2 separate regions of the Homo sapiens genome follow, and region 2 is linked to region 1. Evidence: promoter capture Hi-C in 16 types of primary human blood cells and fetal thymus (Javierre and others, 2016). All regions are on one chromosome and are shown on one strand. Each heading gives the region's core, a stretch centred on a gene start or on the middle of the fragment in contact. The rest is flanking DNA. Distances are from core to core; before and after follow the strand shown.

Region 1 (6,409 bases), core at 2,660-5,159:
GGCGGAGCCTGCAGTGAGCGGAGATCGTGCCACTGCACTCCAGCGTGGGCGACAGAGCAAGACTCCGTCTCAACAACAACAGGAAAAAAAGAAAAAAGAAAAAAAAATTTCTTCCGCCTAGGATTGAGGGTTGCGTTTACTTGTTGAGTTTCTTTAATCCTTGTGACCAACAGCAGTTCTCACTACCCACCCGCTTCTGTAGTCCTTTCTGGCCCTGCCCTTTGTCGATGGCGCAGCATGGCTTTCACTCACCGGAAAACTCACACACAGTAAAATGAGCTTGAACTGAGTTTTAGAAAAGACACTTTTTTTGTCCCACAAAAGTTTAGAAGCCGGATTACAATGGATTTTTAGGAGGTGGCGCCGACTTTGTGTAACCCAAGGGCTCCTCGGTTCTCAGGCAGCTTCTGGAAGCCTGGGACTCCTCTGCCACCCGATCCCTTTCCTCAAAACCAAGGCACCTCGTGACCCCAGAAAAGAAATGTTTGAAGGATATTGAAATGAATGAATGGGAAATAGTGAGACAAGAAACAAAACTCCTTTCACTTGTCCCCTCTTTGAGTTCTCTGTTGTACCTCAAAAGTAGAAGTGGCTGCTGCCCAGTTTCAAAGTCTGCCTCTTGTTCAAGCCAACCCTCTAAACACACGACCAGCACAAACAGCTTTCTGATGAATTCCCTGAAGCTCACGCCACACCTCGGGCAGAAAGACAGCTGCAGCGGGAAAACATGGACGAGGCAATTTGTTCAACAACTCCGGGGGAAGAAAATGCAGACTTCTAGCCACCTAAGAGGCATAGATTTTATTTGGGGAAAACCCCAGCAAGTTTCCCTAGAGAAAATTTCTTGCTCCCCGAGCAGTTTCAAAGACATTTTTGTTTCCCAACAGATCATGTTCTTGACACGTTGCGAAGTTACGGGAAATGTTTTTTAATCGACGCGATGCAGTTTATCTCCTTTCTCTGCTTTTACAGATTTCTGAAGGCTCCATTCCAGCCGTGCAATGCCCAGGAGTATCCACAAGGTGTCAGCACCTTCATGATAAGCAGGGCGGGCCGGGCGGTCTTTTTCTTTTTCCTTTTCTCGTAGTAGTTCCCTGGTTGGCCTCAAGATGACGCCAACACCCACGGAGTCCGCCCAGCCGCTCCAGGTGCAGCGGCCACGGGCCGGGAGGAGCGCAGCGCGGTGGGGGCGGAAGGCGAATTAAATACCTTTAGGCTTTATCGCCGCTTATTATTCCAGGAACACGCGAGGCCCTCTGGGACCCGATTCCGCGTTCGGCTCACTGACTTACAAGGTCAAGAAGGGGGAAAATCAGCCAGAAAGTAGCAGCCCCCCATCCGAAATACCCTGGCAGGTTAAAGAAAAGCTGGGAAATACGGTTTTTGCAAAGTCCAGGTGTATGGAAGGCGTTGTTTTAATAACCTGAACAAACATCTTTCCCGGAGTCCCACTGAGCAAACAAGAAACCTAATTCCAGGGGTAAAGGGAAGTGTCTCTCTCACCTTTTCTGTCTTGATGAGACGAATTTCTTTCCCCTCCCCTTTTCCTTTCTTTGGGGCGGGGGAGGGTGGATAATATATTGGGCGACTCGATTTAGGTGTTTGTTTGTTTGTTTGTTTGTTTCCCCAGATGACATTGGTTTAAACCGGGACACCCTTGTGAATACAAACGTAGGCAGCAACTGCCATTTTGGAATTTATTTTTTCATAGTCCTTAGCTATTTTAGGTTTTGCTGTGATAAAGCTGTTTCTCTCTCTCTCTCTCTCTCACACACACACACACACCCCTCGTAAAAGCAGAGTAAATAATATTCCTCCAGGAAGCCTACAGGCTGAGGAGTGTTTCTTGATCAATAGTTTGCATTTCCAGTAAAATCGTGACACGAACTCAGTGTGCCTGTCATGCGCTGCAGGAGAAGGGCACTTTTTGCTAGTCCTTTTTTTTTTTTAAGCTAGATGCGGAAATACTAGCTTATTAAAAATAATAAAGTCATGGTGGGAGTTTAGGGTTGGGGCAGAAAGCTCAAATCATTTGCCTGTGAGCTGAGAACTGGGCAGCTTTATTTTACTTTGTTTCAAAGAAAGAAGAAAAAGGATCAGGTTAGAAAAAGAGCCCAGAATACTCATAAAAACAATGTTTCAGAAGTGGAATATTCAAGGTAAAGGAACCTGATTTGTAGCTTCCCTTTGGCTTTGAATTGATCAGGAGACAAAGATAATGCATCTACATTTTCGTCTTCTGTTCTTTTATTGGAAATAAGTGGCACGCCCCATTGCCTTCTAGTCGCCTCCCCGAAGCGAAGAGGCCGAAGCGAAGAGGCCTGGTGGGTTGTCTCAACATCCTTTTGCTGAGAATCGAATACGCAGCCGATGAACAGCCAGGAAGGGTGCAAGGAAACCTGAAATACAAATGTTCTCCCTGAAGCCCTCTTCCCTGCCCAACCAGACCAGCAACTTCCAAAATTCTGCCCGTGTTTAGCCTTGTTAAAGGGGTGTCTCACTCCTTCAGGGAAAGTGGGAAAAGGGGATCTGATTATTGAGGTGTGGAAGGAATAAATAATCAGTCCACAAATAAACAAACTGTCCGGGATTCCTAGAGGGAAGGAGAAATCCTTGAAGGAGATCCAAGTCGCTCCAGGTCTGCCTGCCGAATAATATCATCCCGAAGGGATCTTGAACCGTTTGCAATCAACCGCTCACCCAGTCTTCCCACGGAGCGCGCTCCCTAACTCACCCTACCCACCCAACAAAACAAAAAAAAGGCTGAAATATAGAAAAGCAACTTGGAGGCTCCCAGGGGGACGTTGCCAGGAGCAGGAGGCAGGGACAGCGCCCTAGGGTCGGTGTTAGCGGCCGGCGCCGGCCTGGGCCACGGGAAACGTCCACGCTTGGTGCCCGCGGTGCGCGGCGCTCATTGCGCGCGCCTTCGAGCCAAGCCCCCGCGGAAAACAGGCTCGGGTTTCTCCTCGCAGGGCCCAGGAACTCGGCTCTGCCTGGCCCGGGTGGGTCGCTGCATTGTCCCGGTCTTCTGGGAGTGCGGGGTCAGCTTGTTAGAGGGAATTTCTACCTGGGAAAAGGGAGACGAGTTTCGAAGCTGAAGTTGGTAGGCTGCGAGTGTCCACGCGGGAGACGAAAGGGGGAAATAGCAGAGTCACTTCACCCTTTTCCCCAAACCCCACAAAACTGCTCGCAGCGACGCGGATGATCTACCGAATTCCCCGCGAATTCGGAGGATTAAGTTGTCAGTCAGCACGTTGCTACCTTCCCCTCTATGCACTCCGCTGCCTGGCTCCTCGGCGGGGAGCGAGGGAAACTCAGTTTGTAGGGTTTACCTCTAAAACCTCGATAGGTTATCCTTGACGACCCCGAGCCTGGAAACTCCCTGTTGATGATTAATTATTTGATTAAATAAGTATAACATCCAGGAGAGGCCCTGCCATTCCAATCCAGCGCGTTTGCTTTGAATCCATTACACCTGGGCCCCCATAATTAGGAAATCTAATTATTCGCTTCATCACTCATTAATAAGAAAAATGTCCCAGGATCATTGCTACTTACAAGGTCTTTGGGAGAGATATTTTACTCTATTAATCCATTCTATTTTATATTTCAAATTGATTTTTTTTAACAGAGGAAAGTGGCTATCTTTTTGTTTTGGGCATGTGGGCCCATTCACCAAAATGTGATCATAAAATAAATTTTAATAAGATATAACTTTTTAAAAAGTTTTCAAGTGAAGACGGAGTCGCCGCGGAGGCCGGGGCGGCGGGGTCTTAGAGCCGACGGATTCCTGCGCTCCTCGCCCCGATTGGCGCCGACTCCTCTCAGCTGCCGGGTGATTGGCTCAAAGTTCCGGGAGGGGGCGTGGCCCGAGGAAAGTAAAAACTCGCTTTCAGCAAGAAGACTTTTGAAACTTTTCCCAATCCCTAAAAGGGACTTGGCCTCTTTTTCTGGGCTCAGCGGGGCAGCCGCTCGGACCCCGGCGCGCTGACCCTCGGGGCTGCCGATTCGCTGGGGGCTTGGAGAGCCTCCTGCGCCCCTCCTCGCGCGGGCCGAGGGTCCACCTGGGTCCCCAGGCCGCGGCGTCTCCGCTGGGTCCGCGGCCGCCCGCCTGCCCGCGCTGCCGCCGCCGGGTCCTGGAGCCAGCGAGGAGCGGGGCCGGCGCTGCGCTTGCCCGGGGCGCGCCCTCCAGGATGCCGATCCGCCCGGTCCGCTGAAAGCGCGCGCCCCTGCTCGGCCCGAGCGCCGCCGCCCGCGCACCCTCGCCCCGGAGGCTGCCAGGAGCCCGGGGCCGCCCCTCCCGCTCCCCTCCTCTCCCCCTCTGGCTCTCTCGCGCTCTCTCGCTCTCAGGGCCCCCCTCGCTCCCCCGGCCGCAGTCCGTGCGCGAGGGCGCCGGCGAGCCGTCTCGGAAGCAGCATGCAGGCGCGCTACTCCGTGTCCGACCCCAACGCCCTGGGAGTGGTGCCCTACCTGAGCGAGCAGAATTACTACCGGGCTGCGGGCAGCTACGGCGGCATGGCCAGCCCCATGGGCGTCTATTCCGGCCACCCGGAGCAGTACAGCGCGGGGATGGGCCGCTCCTACGCGCCCTACCACCACCACCAGCCCGCGGCGCCTAAGGACCTGGTGAAGCCGCCCTACAGCTACATCGCGCTCATCACCATGGCCATCCAGAACGCGCCCGAGAAGAAGATCACCTTGAACGGCATCTACCAGTTCATCATGGACCGCTTCCCCTTCTACCGGGAGAACAAGCAGGGCTGGCAGAACAGCATCCGCCACAACCTCTCGCTCAACGAGTGCTTCGTCAAGGTGCCCCGCGACGACAAGAAGCCCGGCAAGGGCAGTTACTGGACCCTGGACCCGGACTCCTACAACATGTTCGAGAACGGCAGCTTCCTGCGGCGCCGGCGGCGCTTCAAAAAGAAGGACGTGTCCAAGGAGAAGGAGGAGCGGGCCCACCTCAAGGAGCCGCCCCCGGCGGCGTCCAAGGGCGCCCCGGCCACCCCCCACCTAGCGGACGCCCCCAAGGAGGCCGAGAAGAAGGTGGTGATCAAGAGCGAGGCGGCGTCCCCGGCGCTGCCGGTCATCACCAAGGTGGAGACGCTGAGCCCCGAGAGCGCGCTGCAGGGCAGCCCGCGCAGCGCGGCCTCCACGCCCGCCGGCTCCCCCGACGGCTCGCTGCCGGAGCACCACGCCGCGGCGCCCAACGGGCTGCCTGGCTTCAGCGTGGAGAACATCATGACCCTGCGAACGTCGCCGCCGGGCGGAGAGCTGAGCCCGGGGGCCGGACGCGCGGGCCTGGTGGTGCCGCCGCTGGCGCTGCCCTACGCCGCCGCGCCGCCCGCCGCCTACGGCCAGCCGTGCGCTCAGGGCCTGGAGGCCGGGGCCGCCGGGGGCTACCAGTGCAGCATGCGAGCGATGAGCCTGTACACCGGGGCCGAGCGGCCGGCGCACATGTGCGTCCCGCCCGCCCTGGACGAGGCCCTCTCGGACCACCCGAGCGGCCCCACGTCGCCCCTGAGCGCTCTCAACCTCGCCGCCGGCCAGGAGGGCGCGCTCGCCGCCACGGGCCACCACCACCAGCACCACGGCCACCACCACCCGCAGGCGCCGCCGCCCCCGCCGGCTCCCCAGCCCCAGCCGACGCCGCAGCCCGGGGCCGCCGCGGCGCAGGCGGCCTCCTGGTATCTCAACCACAGCGGGGACCTGAACCACCTCCCCGGCCACACGTTCGCGGCCCAGCAGCAAACTTTCCCCAACGTGCGGGAGATGTTCAACTCCCACCGGCTGGGGATTGAGAACTCGACCCTCGGGGAGTCCCAGGTGAGTGGCAATGCCAGCTGCCAGCTGCCCTACAGATCCACGCCGCCTCTCTATCGCCACGCAGCCCCCTACTCCTACGACTGCACGAAATACTGACGTGTCCCGGGACCTCCCCTCCCCGGCCCGCTCCGGCTTCGCTTCCCAGCCCCGACCCAACCAGACAATTAAGGGGCTGCAGAGACGCAAAAAAGAAACAAAACATGTCCACCAACCTTTTCTCAGACCCGGGAGCAGAGAGCGGGCACGCTAGCCCCCAGCCGTCTGTGAAGAGCGCAGGTAACTTTAATTCGCCGCCCCGTTTCTGGGATCCCAGGAAACCCCTCCAAAGGGACGCAGCCCAACAAAATGAGTATTGATCTTAAAATCCCCCTCCCCTACCAGGACGGCTGTGCTGTGCTCGACCTGAGCTTTCAAAAGTTAAGTTATGGACCAAATCCCATAGCGAGCCCCTAGTGACTTTCTGTAGGGGTCCCCATAGGTGTATGGGGGTCTCTATAGATAATATATGTGCTGTGTGTAATTTTAAATTTCTCCAACCGTGCTGTACAAATGTGTGGATTTGTAATCAGGCTATTTTGTTGTT
Region 2 (6,461 bases), core at 2,557-5,056, 520 kb after region 1:
TCCTAAAGCCTGTTCTTAAAACAGTACCTTGTCACTTCTGCCATATTCCTTTGGTCAAAGCAGGTCACATGGTCAAGGCCAAAGTTACTGGACAGGGAAGTATGCTCTATGGGAAGCATGGGGAAGGGAGTGTGAACATGTATGGGACAATAATCAATCTACTAGAACATCTTTGGGAGCACAAGTTGAGGAAATTCTTTTTTTTTTTTTTTTTTTTTTTTTTTTTTGAGATGGTGTCTTGCTCTGTCACCCAGGCTGGAGGGCAGTGGTGCAATCTCAGCTCACTGCAAGCTCCACCTCCTGGGTTCATGCCATTCTCCTGCCTCAGCCTCCCAAGTAGTTGGGAGTACAGGCGTCTGCCACCACGCCCAGCTAATTTTTTGTATTTTTAGTAGAGACGGAGTTTCACCAGGTTAGCCAGGATGGTCTCGATCTCCTGACCTCGTGATCCATCCGCCTCGGCCTCTCGAAGTGCTGGGATTACAGGAGTGAGCCACCACACCTGGCCAAGTTGAGGAAATTCTTATCTGATGGCCTCTATTTCTTCTATGGAGTAGGAGACAAATCCAACTTCTGCAAACGAAGAAAGGGGCCAGTCAAATTTTGAGAGTAAAAAATGTTTGAAATAATGTAGAAATACAAGAGGTCTTCTTATGTGTTATGAAAAAAACTATAAATTTCAAATTTGTTTGCATAAAAATAAACTCATGTTAACTGGTTATAACATATCTAAACAGGATCTAGCTTGAGGCACTAGGAAGGGACAAGACATCAGTTTAAAAGGAGCTTCTATTAGAGCAACATAAATTCTGCTAAAATTGAAGCCACAACAAACATCACATTTATGGTGAGCTTGGATGGAAGAAGGGTGAAATCACTGATGCTTTACAAGATGTTCATGGGGACAATGCCCCAAAGAAATCAGCAGTTTACAGATAATTAATTCATTTTAAGAAGAAATGAGACAGCGCTGAGGATGAAGCCCACAGCATCAGACCATCCACATCAATTTTCAAGGAAAAAATGTATCTTGTTCATGCCCTTATTGAAGGGTACCAGTGATTAACAGCAGAAACAATAGCCAACACCATAGACATCTCAACTGGGCCAGCTTACACAATTCTGACTGAAAACTTAAGATGAACAAACTTTTCACTTGGTGGATGCCAAAACCATTGTGCTTAGACCAGCTGCTGAGAAGAGCAGAGCTTTTAATGGAAATTTTTAACAAGTGTGATCAAGATTCTAAAGCATTTTCTTCAAGGAATTATAACAGGCAGTAAAGCATTGCTTCACCAGTACCATCCTGAAGACAAAGCACAATCAAAGCAATGGCTACCAAGAGGTGGAAGCGGTCCAGTCGCAACAAAAGGAGACTTGTCAAGAGCAAAGGTCGTGACAACAATTTTTGGAGATGTTCAAGGCATTTTGCTTGCTGACTTTCTGGAAGGCCAAAGCATTATAACATCTGCTTGTTATGGAAGTGGCTTAAGAAAGTTAGCCAAAGCTCTAGCAGAAAAATGCCTGTGAAATCCTTTGGTGGTGGAGTGAGTCCTTCCCCACCACAGCAATGCTCCTGCTCATTCCTCTCATCAAACAAGGGCAATTTTGTGAGAATGTCAGTGAGACATCATTAGGCGTCCACCTTACAGTCCTGAGTTGGCTTGTCTGGACTTCTTTTTGTTTCCTAATCTTGAAAAATCTTTAAAGGGCACCCATTTTTCTCTAGTTAATAATATATAAAAGACTACACTGATGTGTTTAAATTTCCAGGAGCTTCAGTTCTTTAGGGATGGACTAAATGGCTGGTGTCATCACTGACAAAAGTGTCTTGACCTTGGTGAAGCTTATGTTGAGAAATAAAGTTTATATTTTTTATTTGTATCTTTTAATTCCATTTTTCCACAAACTTTTTGAAGTCACCTCATAATCATATCCTGTGTCACCTCGTAGTTATATCCTATAAAGCACAAGCTTCAGGTAGGTTTGCTCTCCAGCAAACTCTTCAGCAACAGAGAAGTTTCCCAAGCAAAGTGCTCCTGGCCAATATAGATCCAGCTCCAACTTGGACTCACATTCATGCATGAGTCCTTTTCCCATGCAGCATCCCCTTCTCTCCCCAGGAGAGGGATGGAGAACGAACTGGGAACACATTTTCATCACAGTTTCCCTGTTTGGTTTTAGAAATATCAAGACTTGATGAAATTGCATTTCCACAATTAGCTGTTGGAGTGGGAGACACCTACCCCATCCAATCACCAAAGTAATTTTTTCCTGTGTTAGAACAGAGAGGAACTTGGCTGGAGTCCACTCGGGGTGAGTGCAAGCTGGAAAATCCAGGTGGCTGAGGATTATATCCAGAGTTGCTTCTGACATGCCCCAATTTGGGTTTTGCTATAACATTCCGAAGGACATTTCAGAGTATATTCGTTATAGTCAAATGCACGCTGGTGTTTGCTCAATTTGCTTCCTTTACATTTTAGGTCCCATGGTATCCAAGAGAAATTCAATGCCAGCATTCAATTCCTTTCATGTAAATCATCAAATTTCCAGGCTGGACAGAGATCTGTTCAAGTCCTCTCCTTGACCCAGGTCCATGCTACCTTCAAAAAGAATTTCACCCCAGTCCAAATTCCAAAGGATAAGATTCAGCCAAGGGCCCTGGAGCCTTGCTGGGTTCTATGGGTTTGGAATTTGGATGAGGGTGCTGAGTCCACTTCCAGGGGGACTGAACCACTCTTCCTCTTCATACCAATGCAAACACCCTTTTGGCCACTGGCTCAGTCACCCTTTGATTTGGATAAAAAGGAAAAGTCCTGATTTCCCAGAAGGGAGCAGGTGGTCCCAGAGCATCCAAGCCCAAGGAAAAGGACTCATGCATGAATTTAAGTCCAAATTGGAGCCAGATTTACAGTGGCCAGGAGCATTCTGCTTGGCACGGACATCCACAGAGGCTGTGGATATCCGTGTGTCTCAGCAATGACTCACCTCACAGGCCCACCATGGAAGGGTCAGGCCAGAGAGAAGCGACTGAGCCACAGACTGTGCAGCCAGCTACTGCGATCAGAAAGAAAGAGCTTATATGTGCATGCAAGCCTGTTTACAACTCTGTACCAGGAAATGGCTTTTTAGTGGGCTAGCACATGCAGCCTCAGACATGACCTTCATTTGACTCTGGGGCTTCTGATTTAGCTCAGCTATAATGAAGGCTCCTGTGGCCAACACAGACCAAAACACAAGAGACTGCATCCAACACTGGATAGTCAAACTCCCCTGGCATATTTCCTCTGGCTCCCTGGGCTGGGAAGGAAAGAATCAGGAGTTCACCATTTTTCCCCATCCACCAACAACACCATCACCCAAAGCCTGCCCCTGGGCATCAGCAATTCTGCCTCTAACTGCTGAAAGTCAGCCAAGGGATCATCCCAAAATTCACATATCCAGATAATCATGACTAGACTGTTTCCCAGGGCTACTATGCTGCTAGAGTGAGGAAGCATACAACTCCCTAAATGTGAAATTCAATTGGCTACAGTAAAAGTCAATCACAAGGTATGCAATACCCACAGACCCCAGGCAACCCTGTTCCTAATCCTGCAGTCACTGAGGCCATGATTTACTGGGTTAATTTTGGGCTCCTGAATAGAGCGCTGCCAATTCATAGGAGGCACCCATCAGGGTGTTTACTTGGGAAAAAGAAAGAATTAATCAGTTGATGACAGGAGCAAAGAAGGAAAAGTTAAAAGACAGACATTCAGGAGTCATGCCTAACTGAGGTTAGGAGAAACAGAAACTCTGAGTGGGTAGAATCCAGGAGCTAAGAGGAGGTAGATGTGCACCTTCGCATCAACAGAAACCAGGAGATGAAAACAGCGTAATCTCTGTACCTTCTGCTCAATGTTGCCGTAAACCTAAAACAACCCTAAAACATTAAGTCTATTTAAAAACAAACAGGGAAGGCAGAGTGGACAAAATAGAAGGGGTTGACCTTCCCAGTCACTGAGGAAATGGTGGGATTAGAGCCCTCAGGAGGCAGAGTGGAGTTCTGAGACCCAAACCCAAGAGACTGAGCTCAATCACCATGGAGTGGAGATCTCAAGCCAGCTGAAGGGTGCAAGGAGATGTTGTCCCTCAGGCGCCCAAGGGTGCTCTCACCTTCTTCATTGGGTGTTCTCACCTGCTTCGTTGGGCCACATAAACCCCAAATGAAACCCTAAGTCCCAAACCAACTGAAAGGACACCCCCTCTTGGCCAAGAGGACCCCATAGCAACCTGAAAAACTAAATTCCAGGCCAGGCACAGTGGCTCACATCTGTAATCCTAGCACTTTGGGAGGCCAAGGAGGGCAGATTGCTACAGGAAAGGGGTCCCGATCCAGACCTCAGGAGAGGGTTCTTGGATCTCACTCAGTTCTTGGATTCAGGGCTTGTCCATCGAGTAAAGTGAAAGCAAGTTCATCAGGAAAGTAAAGGAATAAAAGAATGGCTACTCCATAGACAGAGCAGCCCCAAGGGTGGCTGGTTGCCTATTTTTATGGTTATCTCTTGATGATATACTCCACAATAGGTGGATTATTCCTGCCTCCCCTTTTTAGACCATGTATGGTAACCATCTGACATTACCACGGCATCTGTAAACTGTCATGACACTGGTGGGATGTAGCAGTGAGAATGATCAGAGTTCCATCCTTGGTCACACCATCTTGGTTTTGGTGGGTTTTAGCCAGCTCCTTTACTGCAACCTGTTTTTATCAGCAAGGTCTTTATGACCTGTATTTTGTGCTGATCTCCTATCTCACCTTGTGACTTGGAATGCCTTAACTGTTTGGGAATGCAGCCCAGTAGGTCTCAGCCTCATTTTAGCTAGCTTCTATTCAAGATGGAGTTGCTCTGGTTAACATGCTTCTGACAGGATCACTTGAGGTCAGGAGTTCAAGACCAGCCTGGCCAACATGGTGAAGCCCTGTCTCTACAAAAAATACAAAAATTAGCTGGCAGTGGTGCTGCACACCTGTCATCCCAGCTGCTCAGGGGGGCTGACGCGGGAGAACTGCTTGAACCTGCCAGCTGGAGGGTGCAGTGAGCTGAGATCGCACCACTGCACTCTAGCCTGGGGGACAGAATAAAACTCTGTCTCAAAAAAAAAAAAAGAAAAAAAAAAAAAACTGGAATCCAGGCCCTAACAGGAAGGGAGGTTGGATACACTTTGTTACACACCTCCCTTTTGGAGTTTAGGCACAACTGACCAGCATTAACATTAAAATAGAGATCGTGAGACAGACAAAACATATTCTTTGCGGCAATAACATATCAAATCCCAACATGATTCTAGTATAGCATCACATAACAGCAGAGCCTGAAGGAAATCAAAATATTTTGCCCCAAAATATATTTCCTTGACATATTTTATAATGGTCCTGCAACACAGTTATTTGTAGGGAAATTTTTGCATCTGTAGAGAATCTTCATTAATGCAGCCAGATCTTTATTGGATTTAAGAGAGATTAAGTAAAAGTCTAACACCTTTAGCACCTATTCTCTCTGAAGACTGCTACCCAGGAGGCATCAACTACATAACAAGAACCTTGGTCTCCACAACACCCCTTATCTGAACTTTCTACTGACTTTAAGTCTTTAGACAAAGCTTAACTCTTTCAACCAATTGCTAATCAGAAAATCTTTGAATCTACCTATGACCTGTAAGCCTCCCTGCTTTGCGATGTTCTACCTTTCTGGGCCAAACCAATATACACATTACACATACTGACTTATGTCTTTGCCTGTAACTTCTGTCTCCCTAAAATGTATAAAATTAAGCTGTAACCTGACCGCTTTGGGTACACTTTCTCAGGACCTACTGAGACCATCCTTCAGGCCATCGCCACTCATATTGGCTCAAAATAAACCCCTTTTCGTATTTTACAAAGTTGGCTTAAAAAAAAAAATTGAGACAGGGTCTTACTCCCATTGCCCAGGCTGAAGTGCAGTGGCATAATCTCAGCATACTATGGCCTCAACCTCTCGGGCTCAAGCAATCCTCCTCCCTCAACCAGTCTCCTGAGTAGCTAGGACTTCAGGCGTGCACCACCACACCCAGCTTTTGTTTGTTTTTTTTTTTTTTTTTTTTTTTTTTTTGTATTTTTTGTAGAGATAGGATCTCTCTATGTTGTTCAGGCTGGGTTCAAGCAATCCACCTGCCTCGGCCTCCAAAAGTGTGGGGATGATAGGTGTGAGCCACTGCACCTGGCCTGCTTTTTCTTTTTTCCTGTCAACAGCCATGAGGCCACTTGCAACCAGTGCCACATGTTCAGCCAAGTAGAAATGTGGGATCATTCCACACTTCGATGTTTAGCATATCTTTACAGGAGCACCTGCCTGGACAACAGTTCTGGTAGCAGTACTCTCTCCAAGAGAGGAACTCAGCGAGTTAGGATGGGGGCTAGATCCACCTCCTGGCTCCTT

The links. The method cuts DNA at HindIII sites, captures the fragments that hold promoters and counts their contacts. A CHiCAGO score of 5 or more calls a contact.
Region 2: a fragment that was not itself captured here is called in contact with the fragment with the promoter of FOXC2 in region 1 in 8 of 17 cell types (M0 macrophages, M1 macrophages, M2 macrophages and 5 more); the score reaches 21.7 in M0 macrophages.

What each region holds. Positions count from the first base shown.
Region 1 is chr16:86,562,920-86,569,328 of GRCh38, forward strand. FOXC2 (forkhead box C2) reads left to right here and starts at 3,910. Exons shown (of 1, transcript NM_005251.3): 1 at 3,910-6,409. The coding sequence starts at 4,417. The coding sequence ends at 5,922. It overlaps FOXC2-AS1 (FOXC2 antisense RNA 1), which reads right to left and starts at 4,842. Exons shown (of 2, transcript NR_125795.1): 1 at 4,698-4,842; 2 at 2,226-2,399. RefSeq lists enhancers at 4,045-4,629, 4,630-5,213. The HindIII fragment of the contact is 11,287 bases long and covers 1-6,409 here.
Region 2 is chr16:87,083,334-87,089,794 of GRCh38, forward strand. No RefSeq gene overlaps it. Among named protein-coding and RNA genes, the nearest start is that of LINC02181, 29 kb to the left of the region's middle. RefSeq lists an enhancer at 5,187-5,836. The HindIII fragment of the contact is 3,669 bases long and covers 1,973-5,641 here.